4 separate regions of the Homo sapiens genome follow, and all the other regions are linked to region 1. Evidence: promoter capture Hi-C in 16 types of primary human blood cells and fetal thymus (Javierre and others, 2016). All regions are on one chromosome and are shown on one strand. Each heading gives the region's core, a stretch centred on a gene start or on the middle of the fragment in contact. The rest is flanking DNA. Distances are from core to core; before and after follow the strand shown.

Region 1 (2,700 bases), core at 155-2,654:
TGCCTCTGATCACTCCTTTCCCTTCCTCCAGCAGCTCCCGAAACAGGTCCACAGGGCCAGAACCTGGGGCTCCCGCCTCTGCTGCTTCAAGCTCAGGCAGTGAGTTCTGATGTCTGGCTTTCTTCCGTAGGAATTCTGTACGGGCCTGGGGAGAAAGTTATAGGCAGGACATTCAGAACCTAGAGGTAATTCAAGAACTGTGAGTCTGGTGCCCACCACAGAAAATGGCAGTCCAGGGTGCTGGGGTTATGAGAAAGGGAGCACTAGGCGCCTAAAAGAGGCACCTGTCCTAGCTGGGGGTGAGGGTAGGCAGATGAGGCAACGCCTGGGTTTTGTAAACTCCCTTTCAAATAGTAAACCACGGGTCATCAAGGATGTATGGGAGGAGGTCCCTGGCCTAAACCAAAGGGGTTCCTAACCTCAAGTGAGACAATTAAAACAGCCATAAAGGTATGCATTAGGCCAGACGATCTGAATTCTAGCCATGGCTCCAAGTGACTACCCCAAGTCTGCTGAAGCCCTGTCCCCTGCCTTCAGGACGCGGATTTCAAACAGCGCTCAGCAGCCTACTGAGATTCTAAAAACCTAGACTACCTCCCACCCACGGCGGAGGATCAGACTAGCTAAGGAAATGAAAGTTGGGTGTACACCAAACAGATTTAAAGAGCCATACGGAAAGCCCGTGTTTGTGTGTATGTGTCTAGGGGGCGGTGCACGAAAGGGCTCGCCCGATGGCGTGGAGCCTGGCTGTCCGCCTCTCCTTAAAATGTGCCTTCCCCTCACTGAAGCCATCTCACTTCGTGCAACAGAGATGACAGTGCCCCTCTAAGAACGAACAGTGCTTATTGGGGATTCCGCAAGTCAGGTGCACGGCATGTAGTTAGCATACAGTAGATGCTCAATAAATAGGCTGTGCAGGCAAACTAAAAAGTGATCCGAATTTCCTTGAACTGTCCAAGGGTTCACGGATTCATTAAATGTTAAGCTTCTCTTTTGTGCTAGACACTGTTCCAGCCATGTGAAATACATCAGTGGGGGAAAAACTAAGACGAGGGCGAGATCAAGGAAGGTTTCGTGGAAGTGGGCACAAGGTTTGCGGGGCAACGTCCTCGAAAGTGGGATCGGCGCCTGGTCCCGAATTTCACACGGGGCACATTGAGCCTGCGCAACGCCTCCGCTTCCGGCCCCCAACCGCGGCGCCTGCGCGCTGGGCCCCGGAGCGCCGCCCTGCCGGCTTCCGAGCTTACCTCTTGCTGAGCCAGCAGCACCCTCCGCTCACGCTCCTTCTCCTCCTCCCGGGCCTGGGCCTCGTCACGCCGCACGCGGGCGACATTGTCCTTGTTCCGGACGTGCCAGCTCTTCTTGGGCAAGATATTCATGGCGTCGTAGCTGTCCAGGGACTGGCACGCCCGCCTCTTTGCACTTCCGATTGGCGAGAGGATGCCCCCCTTTTTCTTGTCCCTACTTCGACCGCGGATTGGTTCCGAATTAGTTGGTACGGCCCCCTGGCCTGTAGCGACAGGTGATTGGCTGAGACGCCCTTTATCACAGCGAATGCTAGGCGTTCGGCTCGTGGTATCCCCTAGCAACCGCCTCTTGTCACAGATCTGAACCAATCATAAGTTGGCCCGCCCCTGATGCTACCAGATGCGGCCGTCGATTGGCCGACATGACCGACAAGTCTCCTTGCGGAAGAGCGCTCTGCACCGACAAACATGCCCGTACATTTGATTGGCTCCTGCCCCGCTGTAGCCCTGCCCCCACCTTCAGGACGCAGATTTCAAAGCGCGCTCAGCAACCTCGGCTGTATTTATTGATACAAGGAAGATCACCCGAGAGTCAGGGACGTGGCGGCGAGGGGCCCTGGAAATCTCCAGATACCAAAGCTGGAAGGGCGTGGAGTCTTCTCCAGTTCTCCTAGTTTACAGATGTTGTGACCTAGGCTTACAATGGGCCTGGGGTCTGAAAGCGGGACGTGGGCTGCGGGGGTCAAAGAGCCGGTTTGGTGGAGGTCAGCGCCACAGCGCGCCGTGCCAGGAAGACTTTATTCTGCGCCTCCTGGGGCAAAGAGAGGTGGAGGTGAGACAATCCTCTTCCCCAACCCCTTTCCATGTTCCCCAGGGGCCCTCTCAGGGACCCGCCTGGCTCACCGTCTCTCTCTGACGTTTGAGCTCAGAGATGAGGCGTCCGTAGGAGTTAGCCAGAGCCACAGTGTACGCCATCAGGATGCTGAAGGAGACAGGAACGGAAGCCACTCCTGACACGCTCTTCCATTATATCCAAACGTCTGGCTCCTTCGAAGCCAGGGATGTGGACGCCTAAGCCCCTCCTCGTCTGGGCTCAAGGAGTTCAGTCTCCCAGCCCCTCCGCCTTCAGATCCAGGAGTCCTACGTCCCGCCCACCTCCTCCTTCGGACCCAGCAGTCCAGGAGCCTAGGCCTCCTCCCTCAGACTCAGTACGTTGCCTGCTCCCACGCCCAAGCCTCTCCTCTCTTGGACGCAGGTGGTGGCCCCCAGATCACACGCATTCAAACCCAGACCCAGAAGTCTGGGCCGTCTCACCTGGAGATCAGCAGAAGGGGCACAGCAAAAGCCTGGGTCCCCAGGAAGAAGAGGAAATTCTGGGTGGTCTCAGGGAGGCTGGAAATAGACTCAGGGATCTGGGCCCAGATGGACGACTGCCCCCGGAATGGACCACACA
Region 2 (2,700 bases), core at 35-2,534, 2.8 Mb before region 1:
CTGTGGGTGTAACTGTTCCTCCCACAGGCAGGACAGAATCCGAGATGAGAAGGTGGGACCCATAAGGGGCTTCCCACTCTGGCTGTGCCTCATGGAGAGGGTAACATTAAAAGATGGAGGACTGAGACCGGGCGCAGTGGCTCCTGTCTGTAATCCCAGAAATTTGGGAGGCCAAGGTGGGAGGATCACTTGTGCCCAGGAGTTGGATACTAGCCTGGGCAACAGGTTCTACAAACAACAACAACAAAAACAAAAACAGCTGGGCGTGGTGGCTCATGCCTGTAATCCCAGCACTTTGGGAGGCCAAGGTGGGCGGATCACCTGAGGTCAAGAGTTCAAGACCAGCCTGGCCAACATGGCAAAACCCCATCTCTACTAAAAATAAAAATAAAATAAAAAATTAGCCGGGCATGGTAGTGCACGCCTGTAATTGCAGCTACTCAGAGGCTGGGGCAGGGAGAATTGCTTGAACCCAGGAGGTGGAGGTTGTAATGAGCCAAGATTGCGCCACGGCACTCCAGCCTGGGCGACAGAGCAAGACTCCGCCTCAAAACAAACAAACAAACAACAACAAAAAAAAAAAAAAAAAAACAGCCAGGTATGGTGGCACACACCTGTAGTCCCAGCTACTCAGGAGGCTGAGGCGGGAGGATCACCTGAGCCCAGGAGGTCAAGGGTGCAGTGAGCCGTGATCATGCCACTACATGTAACCTGGGTGACAGAGCAAGACCTCATCTCAAAAAAGAAAAAGAAAAAGAAAAAGGAGAAAGAGGAGAAGGAGCTGGAAGAGGAGAGGAAAGAGAAAGAACTGTTATTTTCATCTCTCTCGTTGCCCAGGCTGGAGTGCAGAGGTGCCACCTTGCCTTACTGCAACCTCCACCTCCCGGGCTCAGGTGATCCTCCCACTTCAGCCTCCCCAGTAGCTGGGACCACAGGCGGGCACCATCATGCCGGGCTAATTTTTTTTTTTTTACTTTTTGTAGAGAAAGGATTTCCCCGTGTTTCCCAGGCTGGTCTGGAACTCCTGGCCTAAAGTGATCCGCCTGCTTCAGCCTACCAAAGTGATGGGATTACAGGTGTGAGTCGCAGTGCCTGGCCTTTTTTCTTAAAAAAAAAAACACAACATAGGAGTTGCCCCTTTAAGACAGAAAAGAACCTCATCCACCCATCAGTAAGAGGCCCCAAGCTTCTTGCTGTGAGTCAGGGAGGCTTCTGAAGGGCCTCAAGCCACATCTTGCTCTTGCTCTGGCAGAACTCCCAGCCCTAAGCTCCTGATTCCCAGGCTCCTGACTCCTGAGGAGAAAGGGTAAGAACTTTCCAGACACACACACACACACGCACGCACACACACCTGAGGAAACAAACTAGCTCATCTTCTCAATTAAGCTTGAGTTGATTTTAAGCTTCAAAAACAGTTTAGTTATATTACATAAGTCAGGAAACAATGGTAGGGCTGAAAAATGATAGCTTGTTTGTTTTTTAAATAATGATGGCTCATGCCTGTAATCCCAGCACCTTAGGAGACTGAGGAAGGAGGATCACTGGAGCCCAGGATTTCAAGACCAGCCTGGGCAACATAGAGAGACTTCATCTCTACCAAAAAACAAAATTAGCAGGTCATGGTGGCGTGCACCTGTAGTCCCAGCTACTGAGGAGGCTGAGGTGGGAGGACGGCTTGAACCCAGGAGGGTCGAGGCTGCAGCGAGCTGTGACTGTACCACTCTAGCCTGGGTGACAGAGCTAGACCTTGTCTCAAAAAGAAAAAAAAAAAGTTTTATAATTGAGGTAAATCATTCAGCATTAAGTGCTGGCTTTCTCTTAAAGAGACGACATATCCACCAATATCAAAAACAGCCTCAAAGCTGGGCGTGGCGGCTCACACCTGTAATCCCAGCACTTTGTGGGGCTGAGGTGGGTGGATCACTTGTGGTCAGGAGTTCGAGACCAGCCTGGCCAACATGGTAAAACCCCATCTCTACTAAAAATACAAAAATTAGTCGAGCGTTTTAGCACATGCCTGTAATTCCAGCTAGTTGGGAGGCTGAGGGAGGAGAATCACTTGAACCCGGGAGGTGGAGGTTGCAGTGAGCAGGGATCACATCAATGCACTCCAGCCTGGGTGACAGACCAGATTCTATCTCAAAAAAAAAAAAAGAAAAGAAAAAAAAAATTTTTTTAAAAGCAGCACTGACCCATGCAGACAACGAGTCAAGGGTTTTATATGCATTAACTCGTTTGACCATCCTAGTAGCCTGTGAGGTTGGTTACTGCCATTACCTCTCATTTTACAGATGAGGCAACTGAGGCACAGAGAGGCCAAGTACCTTGGCCAGGGCCACTGAGCATGGAAGTGGCAGGACCACGGGTCTAACCCCAAATCTGTCTTGGGAACTGTGAGACTCTGAAAGAGGCTACGTGTGCCCACGGTGTTAGGAGAGCCAGTCTTCCTATTTGTTGTCCACTGCAGGCAAGAGGGATTTTCTTCTCTTCTCTTTTCTTTCTCTCTTTCTCTCTCTCTCTCTCTCTCTCTTTCTCTTTCTTTTTGATACAGAGTCTTGTTCTGTTGCCCAGGCTGGGGTGCAGTAGTATGATCTTGGCTCACTGCAAACTCCACCTTCTGGGTTCAAGCGATTCTCCTGCCTCAGCCTCCCCAGTAGCTGGGACTACAGGCGCCTGCCACCACGCCTGGCTAATTTTTTG
Region 3 (2,700 bases), core at 103-2,602, 2.6 Mb before region 1:
CGGATCCGGGACAGAAGGCGAGGCCTGGAGGATGGGGAGGGGCAGCCATGTGAGCCTCAGGGAGGACCCAGAACCAACCACCCCACTTCCAACACTGATTCACCTCCAGGGCCTCTGCTTGTGGCCAGGATCTTCCCCCTCCAGCATATGGTAGCCTCTGAAAAGCAGGTGGGGCTGGGAGAGGAGCATCCCGCTTAGTTTCACCCTTCCAGAGACACAGGAAGGCATGGAGGCCAAACACCTGTCTCTGACAGGGTCCCCATGCCACAGCCCAGCCCTCCAGTCCAGGGTAGCCCATGTCCCCCTCAGCCCAGGGCGGCCCATACCTGCCTCATCATGTCAGGACCTGCAGCTCCTGCCTCCCACCTGGCAGTGATGTCATCCTCATCATCCCAACCCCACTACACGTTGGAGAAGCCATTTATCTTCAGGTAGTGAGTGGGGTGCAGGGCAAACACCCCTCCAAGGCACAAGCTAACGGCTTAATTGCTGTTGTTTCCCCATGTTCTGGCTTGCAGCACTTGTAACCTCTGGGCTCCTGCAGCCCTTAACATCTGATACCTTTACATTAAGATTTATCATCCTTATCTCTGGACCAGGCTGAATACACCTGTGTCCCGGTGCATCTGGCCAGCGGGTCAAAGGGCCTAGCACACAGATTAACAAATGAATGAGTTCCAGTTACCAAAGTTCAATCCTTGAGGTGGACAGAAGACGCCCAAGGCGTGTCTCCCATCACCCTTCACTCTCAATCCTCCTTATCAAGGGCCTCACGGGAATAGTGATAAGATCTCAGAATATACAGGAGGGAGCAGTTTCGGGAAGGGGGGCATTGGAAGGAAGTGGAGGGCTTGGATCTGGGGAGCAAGCGGGGAGAGTGCTCCGTTCCTTGGTTTTGGGATCTTGCCTTACGGGTCTCACCTGCCCTCCATCCTGGCTTCCACCTGGCAGGGTGTGTTTGTGTCAGAAAGACGATTGTGCGTAACTGTTCACCGCGTCCACGTCCCGAGAGTTGCGCACGCGTGGAGATCTGCAAAACGCTCCCTTTCAGCTCCGCGCATGCACAGAGACCCCACCCCGCAAGTCCTTGCCCTTCGGCCTGGGCAGGCGTCCACTCCCATGGCTGCAGGGCGCGCCGAAGAGCCCACTCTGCATCCCCGAGACGCGGCCCAATCCTAGGAATGTGCTTAGCGCAGGTGCTATCTTCCCTTTTCACATTCCCAATCTCTTTCTCCGCCCCCTCAAACTCTTGCCATACTCCCACAACAGCAGAAAATCTGAAAAAAAAGTCCATCCCATCTTTGCACTGACAGCAGTGCACAGCAGCTGGCAGAGAATTCTGGCACGGCTATTGTGCTTGCGCAGGCGCAGACGGGAAGCGGGCCGGACCGGCCTAGTACACTCTGGGAGGCGTGCGCAGAATGCGCAGCGCTGCCGCGAGGATCTCTGGGAACTGTAGGCCCAGTTTGTCCGAGAGCCGCAAGTGTTTCGGGACGACGCAACGCAGGGGCACCTGGGAGTCGTAGGCGGATGGGCCCAAAGCCTTCCGGGAGTCGTAGTCCTTCCGCCCGCTCCTCGTTTCTTTGGAGGTTGGCCCTTCCAGCTCCAGTTCTGCCCAGGTGAGCGCCCATCCCGCGGCCGGCCGGTCCTGGCCCTTTGTCGCGATGACGTGGCGGAGTTGAGGGTCTCTGTATTTCTCTCCCCCGCGTTCTGGTAGGCGTCCCTGGAAAGATGGCACCCTTTTCCGTGATCTCTCAATCCCTCTCTCCGGGTGGGAGTGCTCTAAGCAGCTGTTGTACCTGCTGACCCGCTTTGGATTCTGCGGCCCAGCCTGACACCTTCTCACTCTCGCCCTTCAACCTGGGTGCAGTGCGAGTGCACCCTCCTCTGTCCTGGTTACAACACAGAGTGGTCAGGGCTGGCCCAGGGGGTGCTCAGGAGGCTGTGGGAACACAGAGGAGGTGCTAGACCCAGCCCAGGGTTCAGGAAAGACCTTACAGAGCAAAGGACCTCAAATCTACCACATCCAAACGAAATCCCAGATTCCCTGTCCTAAACCTGCTCCTCTCACAATCTTTCTGCCTCCTCCCCACTAACTGTCCATCCAAGTGCTCAAGCCAAAATCTTGGAATGGTCGCCAGTGTTCTGTTTCTCTCATCCGCTTCCCTCCCGCAACCAAATCTTGTGTGAGTCTCATCGTCTCTATCTCCAGAAGAGGCCCAGAATCTAACCACTTCTCTCCACTTCCACTGTCTCCATTCTGCTCCGAGCTACCGTTACTCCTCACCTGCATCACTGCAGGGGCCTCCTCACTGTTCTGTTTCTTCCCTTGCCACACTCCACCCTCTATTCAGGCACAGTGCCAGGAAGCCTGTGGAAATATAAATCAGATCCTGTCACCAGTCACTACCCTGCCCCCCAGCTTAAAATCATCCAGTGGTTCCCATCTCAGAATAAAATCCAAGCTCCTTATCCTGCCAACCTCTAAGCTTCTGGTCCTTTCTGGTCGTCCTCAGTCACAACACACTTTCCAATGGGCTGAACACAGCCAGGCCCTGCCCTTCATGTCCTTTGCATTTGCTATTAACTCAATTTGGAGCATTCTTCCCACCCTGACCCAATATCTGTCTACTCATTTTGTTGGCCTCAGCTCAAAGGCCTCCAGCCACCCTAAAGAACCCCCTCCCTGTTCCCCCCCCC
Region 4 (2,700 bases), core at 118-2,617, 2.6 Mb before region 1:
TGTGTGTGGTGTATTATGGACGGGGACTGAAAAGTCCAGAAGCTCAGAATAGGTACACCAGACAGAGCCACCTCCCGGCCTGAGTTCTATGAAGGCAACAGAAAGAGGAAATGGTGTTTCTGGAAGCTGGCCACGTATGGGTACATGAGATAGTGGAGACAGTGTACAGTTTAGAACAAGGCAGATGTGGGGCTGATTCCCTGTTTTTCCATTTACAGACTGAGTAACCTTCAGGCAAATTATGTAACAGCACACAGCCTCATTATCCTCATCCTCAAAATGGGTATGATAATGCCCATGATATTTAGCTGACAATTAAATTGACAACTTTCTTTTTTTAATTCATATTTATCACGTGCCAGGCAGGCACTGAGGACTTGACAAGCTTCATCTTGGTTAAGTTTCCCAACATCTGTGATAAATACCTGCATTTTCATTTTGGAAACTACAACTAAAGTAATATTTTCATATTCTCACAGTGAAAATGTGGCAAAGCTGCAATGAATTCACCATTTAGTCCAGACTCAGTCTTTATTTTTAACCCTGACTAATAACTAGAGTTGGGCTTTCTGAACTTTGTCTACTCCAATGTCTGACACAGTGACTTCACCTCAGTGCCCTCAGGAAATATTTGTGGAGTGAATGTTGAATGAGTGACCATGTACTCATTGCTTTTCCAAGGCTTCTGCAGAACCCCCAGGTCAGGCCACATCATTGAGGCTGCAGGATCTCTCTTCATAGCCCAGTACGACTCTCCGCCGTGTCCCTGGTTGGAAAATCCAAACACCTATCCAGCTTCTGGCTCCTGGGAAAAGTGGAGTTGTCAGCAAGAGAGACCGAGAGTAGAAGCCCAGAGTGGAGATGCCTGCTGATGTGAATTTATCCCAGAAGCCTCAGGTCCTGGGTCCAGAGAAGCAGGATGGATCTTGCGAGGTAAACAGGGGCAGCCCTGGGGATAGTTCTCCAGAACGTGAGGGCAGACACAGGATGCAGCAGGTCTGGGCTCCCTGCTCCTGAGTCAGTCTTGAGCCTCCTGTCAAGCGAGGACCACAGAGGCTGATGTTTCCACATTCATAGGCTATCTGTGTTCTAGAGGAAACCATGAACTGGCTGATAAAAGAGGATAGTAGAGGGTTGGCCTTGGGTCAAGAAAGAAGAAACTGTAGTCCCTGGTCTGATCAGAAGCCCCAGTCATAGGATGGAAAAGCTGACTCTTTCCTGCTAAGCACTGGTTCTGCTCCTTCATCCACCACTGGGTCTTTGAAAAATTTCAAGTGGTCCCCCCCACCAAATTCCTTGCTTGGTCCATGGGGTTTGGCCCGTTTTTCCTCTGTTCTCATAAGGTGCGGCAAAATCTCCTTCCTTTGTAATTTAAATAGTCACAGGGAGGTAGAGTGAGAAGAGGCTTTTAAGGACCATGTGAAGAGGCTTTTAAACACTTTTTCCTGTTTAAAAAGGTGAACAAAAAATGCTGGAAAACAGTGTTTCCAGATTGCCCACAGATAGAAATAGTCAGGATTTGGTAACAAGAAATCAGAATTCTTGGTATAGTCAAGATTTCCTGAAATCCTAAATTATTCTGTGTATCTCTTGATGCTTTATTTACAAGTCTTTAAATAGTATGTGACTATAATAGTAAACAGTGTACCATTGTTCTGTGATGGGTTTATAACCAAATTTACAGAGATGTTCTGTTTTTTAAAAAAAGTATAATAAATATGTGTGTTATTATCCTGAACCAATATATTGTGAGATTATATATTTCAGTAACCTGTTAAAATCATCTCAACCTGCTAGAAACATTTGATAATAGAAAGTATTAAAAGAAGGGAACATTAACACAAAATAAATTGCACATATAAATCATTTTCAAAATTGTAAATACCCCAAATATTTAAAAGTCGTTCTTAAAAGAAAAATTGAAACATACAAGTTTAGGTGGGGCACAGTGGCTCATGCACTTTGGGAGGCCGAGGCGGGCGGATCACTTGAGCCCAGGAGTTGGAGACCAGCCTGGGCAACATGGCGAGACTCTACAAAAATACAAAAATTAGCCAGGTGTGGTGGCATGCACCTGTAGTCCCAGCTACTGAGTACGTTGACGTGGGAGGATCACCTGAGCTTGAGGCGGTCAAGGTTGCAGTGAGCTGCAATCATGACACTACACTCCAGCCTGGGCAATAGAGTGAGACCCTGTCTCAAAACAAAACAAGTTTAAAACATGAAATTGTCTAAGTCTTTGTGACAGCAGTGCAGATGCACAAACGTTTCTCTCATTTGCATTGATGTTGGTCAACTTGCGTGTTCAGAACATCTTCAAGTTTAGCGTTTTAGGACACATGTTCAATATAAGCTTTTTTCCTTTTTTAACAATGAAATTTTTTTTCTGCTTGACCTGATTTCCAGTTTATCATTTGAATCAATACTGCTGTCGCTAATTCAGATTTTCCATCAGTGTCTGAATTCATGTCAGAGTATATCCCAGTACCATGCACATTATCTTCTCTTTGTGGTGTGTATTTCCCTCTGCTCTGGACAGTACTATTTTTATTTTGTTATTTTTATCTTTTCTAATGTGATGGAAATAAAGATAGTATAGTGTTTTAATTTGCATTACTTTGTTTACAAACAGGCTTTTTTTTCATAATTTTATTGGTCAATTACTTGTCTTTAGTGAGTTACTTTTTCTTACCTTTTGAT

What was found. Contacts are between HindIII fragments. The CHiCAGO score rates a contact against its expected background, and 5 or more counts as called.
Region 2: a fragment that was not itself captured here is called in contact with the fragment with the promoter of LENG1 in region 1 in 3 of 17 cell types (non-activated CD4 T cells, total CD4 T cells and activated CD4 T cells); the score reaches 9.5 in non-activated CD4 T cells.
Region 3: a contact is called between the fragment with the promoter of LINC01530 here and the fragment with the promoter of LENG1 in region 1, in 2 of 17 cell types (total CD4 T cells and non-activated CD4 T cells). The highest score is 5.5, in total CD4 T cells.
Region 4: a contact is called between a fragment that was not itself captured here and the fragment with the promoter of LENG1 in region 1, in 2 of 17 cell types (total CD4 T cells and activated CD4 T cells). The highest score is 8.5, in total CD4 T cells.

Annotation. Positions count from the first base shown.
Region 1 is chr19:54,158,317-54,161,016 of GRCh38, forward strand. LENG1 (leukocyte receptor cluster member 1) reads right to left here and starts at 1,405. Exons shown (of 4, transcript NM_024316.3): 1 at 1,248-1,405; 2 at 1-145. The coding sequence starts at 1,379. TMC4 (transmembrane channel like 4) reads right to left here. Exons shown (of 15, transcript NM_144686.4): 13 at 2,562-2,700; 14 at 2,151-2,229; 15 at 1,792-2,058. The coding sequence ends at 1,990. RefSeq lists an enhancer at 738-1,407. The HindIII fragment of the contact is 1,716 bases long and covers 984-2,699 here.
Region 2 is chr19:51,358,260-51,360,959 of GRCh38, forward strand. All of the region lies in intron 1 of ETFB (electron transfer flavoprotein subunit beta), which reads right to left. Among named protein-coding and RNA genes, the nearest start is that of ETFB, 6.8 kb to the right of the region's middle. The HindIII fragment of the contact is 200 bases long and covers 1,185-1,384 here.
Region 3 is chr19:51,593,028-51,595,727 of GRCh38, forward strand. LINC01530 (long intergenic non-protein coding RNA 1530) reads right to left here and starts at 1,353. Exons shown (of 2, transcript NR_034159.1): 1 at 922-1,353; 2 at 1-24. RefSeq lists enhancers at 1-432, 433-1,068, 1,069-1,704, 1,451-1,760, 1,971-2,020 and a silencer at 2,103-2,270. The HindIII fragment of the contact is 8,842 bases long and covers 1-2,487 here.
Region 4 is chr19:51,572,469-51,575,168 of GRCh38, forward strand. ZNF175 (zinc finger protein 175) reads left to right here. Exons shown (of 5, transcript NM_007147.4): 2 at 682-933. The coding sequence starts at 862. Among named protein-coding and RNA genes, the nearest start is that of ZNF175, 2.5 kb to the left of the region's middle. The HindIII fragment of the contact is 1,968 bases long and covers 384-2,351 here.